Linked DNA regions of Homo sapiens: region 2 is linked to region 1. Evidence: promoter capture Hi-C in 16 types of primary human blood cells and fetal thymus (Javierre and others, 2016). All regions are on one chromosome and are shown on one strand. The core of a region is centred on a gene start or on the middle of the fragment in contact, and the rest is flanking DNA. Distances in the headings are between cores, read along the strand shown. Region 1 holds the start of MATN3 (matrilin 3). Region 2 overlaps LAPTM4A-DT (LAPTM4A divergent transcript).

What was found. Contacts are between HindIII fragments. The CHiCAGO score rates a contact against its expected background, and 5 or more counts as called.
Region 2: a fragment that was not itself captured here is called in contact with the fragment with the promoter of MATN3 in region 1 in 6 of 17 cell types (monocytes, M0 macrophages, total B cells and 3 more); the score reaches 6.3 in monocytes.

Annotation. Positions count from the first base shown.
Region 1 is chr2:20,011,340-20,014,047 of GRCh38, forward strand. It overlaps MATN3 (matrilin 3), which reads right to left and starts at 1,329. Exons shown (of 8, transcript NM_002381.5): 1 at 1,070-1,329. The coding sequence starts at 1,292. RefSeq lists an enhancer at 433-1,045. The HindIII fragment of the contact is 3,809 bases long and covers 1-2,708 here.
Region 2 is chr2:20,109,507-20,112,214 of GRCh38, forward strand. The region is part of intron 2 of LAPTM4A-DT (LAPTM4A divergent transcript); the gene reads left to right. Among named protein-coding and RNA genes, the nearest start is that of LAPTM4A-DT, 59 kb to the left of the region's middle. The HindIII fragment of the contact is 2,474 bases long and covers 222-2,695 here.

The DNA of each region.
Region 1 (2,708 bases), core at 79-2,578:
CACCAGCTGAATCTAGCCCTGTGGACCCCGGTACCTCCTGCCTTAGCAGCAATGCTTTTGCCATTTCAAATCTGCCACTTCAAATACGGGGACTGAGTATTTGAGTCAGGAAAGAGTCCCTTGAGCTCCTTCTCAGCTTATCCAGAAAGATGCAGAAGGGGATAGACAATTGAAATCAGCCTGAGGCATGCAGCGTGGCTGGCCAAATGAGACTGCATACCCAGAAATGGCCTGGCACAGACTCTTTTTAGCAAGACTGAAGCTGCGCTTTTTGGAAATGAAGATACAATCTTATGTAAACCATATTAAGAGGTTGGTAGGCTGGGGCAGTGGAAAGAGACCTTGCTTGGGATTTCGGAGCCCTGAATTTTATTGTGGCCTCTGATACTGATTCACAGAGTCCCTTCAACTTGATATGCCTCAGTTTCCCTTCATGTGCTGTCAGGGGCTGTGTCAGACGACCTGCCCGCTTCGCTGCACTATGAGCTTTGCTCTGCTTCAGGAATCAATTGCTGACCAAAAAGAGAAATAGAATTGTTCGCCAAAGACCCAGAGTGTCTTGATCCTGGGGTATCCTACGGCTCCTCGGATCTCCTCCTGGTCTCACACCCGCATCCCTTACCTTCCAGTCTGAGGCAGCCTGAGGACTGTGGGAGGGGAGGAAAGATCACGCCCTGATATTGGATGGAGATGGAGAGATTCCAAGAGAACTAACAGCAGAGTCTCAGGAAGGGTTTGCTCACTGAATGGAGAGGTCAGGACTGGGACGGAGCTTAGCAGCAGCCGCTGGGCAGCAGCCCCTGCGCTCCCCAGCTGCCCTGTGCTCCTGGCCGAATCACAGGGGAGTGAGAGCTTCAGGAGACCCACATCTCTAGCCTGGACACATGAGTGATATTGGGCATCTCCCTCCCCTTCTCTGGACCTCAGTTTCCCCCACAGGATTCATCCGGGAGGGGCCTCTTTCCCCCGCACCACGGTCGGCCTGAGGCCGGGATGAAGCGCGCTTGGTGGATGCCCTGGGCTTCTCCTCGTTCGATGCTCACGCGTCCCTCCCGCCGCCCGCCTGTACCTGCACCGCGGGCGCGGCCAGGCTCGCTGGTCCCGGAAGCGGGCGCGCCGTCGGGAGCCGCAGGAGAGGGGCGGCGTCCAGGGCTGCCCCCGGGACCTCGGGTCTCCAGCCTCCGGAAGCCCGGGCGGGCCACGGGGTCGGGGGCGGCGGAGGGCAGCAGCAGCAGCGGCCAGAGCAGCAGGAGGAGTCCCGGGAGGCGGCGCGCGGGGGCCGGGCGCGGCATGGTGGGCTCCGTGGGCCTGGTGGTGTCCGTCGGGGGCCAGGAGCCCACGCGAGGCTCGGATTTAAAGGTCCCGCGGCCTCGGGCCCCGCCCCGCCCCGGGGCCTCGAGCGCCAGGCCGGCCCGGCGAACCCCGCCCAAGGCCAACAAGGAGCCTTGTCCGCGCATTCCAGCGGCAGAAACGGAATGTCTGGGCGAGGCGGCCAGCGGCGCGGTGGTCACCTCCCGCCCCTGCCCTAAGCCCCGAGCCGGCTGCAACTGGGTGGGCTCGGCTGCTGTCGCAACCTCCGTCCTCCCAGTAACACCGGGGCAGGGGGGGCAGCCATCCGCGGCTGCAGCCTGCCCGGCCCTCCACTCTCCCTCCCACCCCAGCGGGGCCTGCGCCCCAGGTACGGGATGGGGACCCCTGGGCTCTGCTTTCCCTTCTGCCACTGGTTTGCCCGACTGGGGCTGAAGATGAAACCCTGCTCCTAGCTCTACATTCCTTTCCTCAGCCAAGTAACCCAAGTTTTGCTGTGGGCTCTTGTTTAAAAAAAAAAAAAGAAAGAAAAGGCCTCACAGATTCTAGGGGCATGAATAGAAACGCTTTCATCCGAGCTTCAAATATCCACAAACATTTGAACTTATATTACCGGGAATAGAAAGTCAAACATACATTCCCCAGAGAGCCCCGTTAGCTGGAAGGACAGCCTGTACCAACACAGGCTTCAAAGGCTCTCCCGAGGCCCCATTTCCTCTCCGGAAGAGTTAGCATGGTACAGGGCTGGAGGCTGCCAGGGGACCCCCATGGAACTCACTGTCTGTGAGAAGGAGATTTGCATAAATGTGGTGTCTGTCTACGGGAATGTGGTGGATTTAGGAAAGAGATACTGACTGCCTGCGGAGACCAGGAAGACTTCTAAAACCAGGTGACATTTGAGCTGCGTCTTAAAACAATGGGCGCGAGTTCCAACAGAGCCTATCTGGTCGTCCTATTTCACTATTTTCCCTCTACAAGTGATCCTCCTCACACGATCCTAAACCTCACTTCTCATATTTGTACCCCATGCTGGTAGCAGCATTATACACAATAGCCAAGAGGCGGAAACAACCCAAGTGTCTCTCTTTGTGTGAATGGAAAAGCAAAATGCAGTATCTACGTACAATGGAATACTGTTCAGCCTTAAAAGGGAGGAAATTTTGGCAGATGCTACAAAATGGATGAACCTTGAGAGTATTATGTTAAGTGAAATAAGCTAGTCACAAAAAGACAAATACTGTATGATTCCATTTACATGGGGAATCTAGAGTAGTCAAATTCATAGAGACAGAAAGAATGGTGGTTAACAGGAGCTGAGGGGAAGTGGGGATGGGGAGTTGTATAATGTATCAATGACATTGGGCAGTGATAGTCACACTGAGGGAAAAGGTCACTCAACT
Region 2 (2,708 bases), core at 209-2,708, 98 kb after region 1:
CATAAGCTGTATCAAATCCCCTCCCTTTTTTTTTTAAGAATAATACTGTTTGTAAAAAATCTCTAATTATCATAGCATCCTAGAAGATCAGTGTGAGTTTTCCCATTTTGTAGCTGAGACTCCTGAAGCACAGAGAAGCAAAGTGACTCATCTCAGGAAAGAGTGCCAGAAACTGGCAGAATCAGGAATGGTACCTGGGTCTACCTGGTGTTTGAGTCATAAGCTTTCCATAATAATTTGCATCATAACTGCCTTTCTTAGTAAAAATGTTAAAGAGATTAACTTCCTTAAGAAAGTGAGTAGGAGAGTGTTCTGACAGCTTCTGACAACTGGAAGTCCCACTTTTTTTTTTTTTTTTTTTTTGAGACAGAGTCTCACTTTGTCACCCAGGCTGGAGTGCAGTGGCGCAATCTCGGCTCACTGCAAGCTCTGCCTCCTGGGTTCAAGCGATTCTCCTGCCTCCGCCTCCAGAGTAGCTGGGACTACAGATGTAAGCCACCATGCCCAGCTAATTTTTGTATTTTTGGTAGAGACGGGTTTTCACCATATTGGTCAGGCTGGTTCAGGAGTGACCATATTGGTCACTCCTGACCTTGTGATCCGCCCGCCTCGGCCTCCCAAAGTGCTAGGATTACAGGCATGAGCCACTGCGCCCGGCCTGGAAGTCCCACTTTCAAATCTCACTTTGAGAGATTGAATCACTTGATAGTCGGAAGTTTCAGAACCTGAGAAGGCAAGTTCGGAAGGAAGGATTGGACTTCCATTTTTCAATAAGAGATGCCTGAGAGGCAAGGGCTGTCCATTATCACTGTTCATGGGTATTCTGGTGATCTATTGCTATGTAACCAATCACCCCAAATCACAGTGGCTTAAAACAACTATAATCATTTTATTACCTCTCACAGCTCTGGGGGCTGGCAGGCCTCAGCTGAGTGCTTCTCACGCAGGGTCTTTCATGAAGTTGCAGTCTGGGGTTGGAGGCATATGGACAGTCTCCTCATTCACATGTCTGGTGGCTGGTGCTGATTCCCCTAATGGGGAATCATCAGCCAGAACAGCTGCCCGTGGCCTCTCTGTGTGGCTTGGGCTTCCTCACAGCATGGTGGCTGGATTCCAAGAGCAAGGGATACAAGATCACTGGGTAGAAGTGCATGGCATTTTTCTGACCTAGCTGTGGAAGTCACATAGTGTCTCTTTTGCAATGACTTCTACTCATCAAGGTAGTCATAAAGTTTCTTCCACTAAGGTACAAGGAGAGGCGACATATACCTCTCCTGGACTCAATGGGAAGAGTGTCAGGGAGAGCATGTGAGATGAGATATACTTTGAAAGTACAATCTGCCACATGGGCAGGCTCTCCTGGGAGAACTTGCCATTTGGAGGAAAAAGGTGACGAATAGCGAATGTAGGCTCTAACAAGGACCCCTCCCTGTAGTCATATCTGATGGTAGTTCCTTCAGGGAACTGGCCACAAGAGACACGGTTGGCAGCAAGATTTACTGCTCTGCCAAAGCTGTCATTGAAATAAATAGGATTAGGTCTGCAGTGACTTCATTATCCGGACTGCTCTAATAACATGTAATTTGCCGCCATGCTGTGACCAGCAAAGCCGCCAGGGCATATAGTGGGAATGCCTGGTCACCTGAGAAGGGGTTCCATCCCCTGGAAATCTTACAGGTCTTTGACCTTGTCCACAAGCAGACAGATCTTACTTCCTCCTCCCACCGGCTTCTTTTATGCAAACAAAAACTGGAAGCAATTTTGCTTTTGAAGCTCCTGAGTCAGCCGAAGCCCCAGGAAATGTCCTGGTTCTTCCCCCAGCCTCTCTCCCTGAGGTCCCCATCCCAAGCCTGAGAGCTCTGGAAATCCAGTTAAAACAGTTGAGAGTTTTCCTGCCAGACAGCACAAGTGTGCCGGGGCCTGGCTCCCAGGGGGCCTAGGCCCAGCCTCGAGGCAGGCTGATGCTCTGTGCTAGCCTCAATACAGTGCTGGCCCAGCCTAGCAAGCCCTGCTAAAGGGTGGCTCTGAAGATGTGGAGCACGGGCCCTGGGATGGTGGGAAGTCCTCCTGTGTAGCTGGTCCCATCCATCTCTCCCTGGCTCCCCGAGCAAGCCCTCTGCTAGCTTCTTCTGCTTCTGTCACCTCCAGCTCCTGTCCTGCTGCAGAAAGTACAGCCTCCTCAACCTGGTATCAAGACCCTCCCATGCAGGCCAACCTGATGCCATTCTGGGCCCACCTTGCCTGTGCAGTCAGGGGCAGGGCTGACCTTCCACAAAAGCCACAGAGCAGAGCCCTCCTGCACCACGTCTGTGATGCTGACACTCTCAGGCGTGCATTCTTCTCACTGGGGCTGTGGAGTGAGGCTACAAGTGAGCAGAGGGCTCAAGGCGGGGGCAGGGCTTAGGCCCTTGAGTTGGGGGCTACTGTGGCTGCCCTCGGATGTGAGTTCACTTCCTCTGGGCTGCCTCTCCTGACCCTACGGAAGCTCATCCCACTGTGGGCCCTTCTGATCTACAGAGCGTTCCTCTACCTAGTGAATCATCCCTGTGAACTCTCAGTACAGTGCAGTAATGAAATCCAGACATTTCCCCAACTCCTGGGCAGGTGACTCTACCCAAAATATCCAGAACTACAGAAATGCTAACAACTGCCACCATTTATGGAGGATTTACTGTATGGCAAGTACAATACCAAAAGCTTTATTCTCA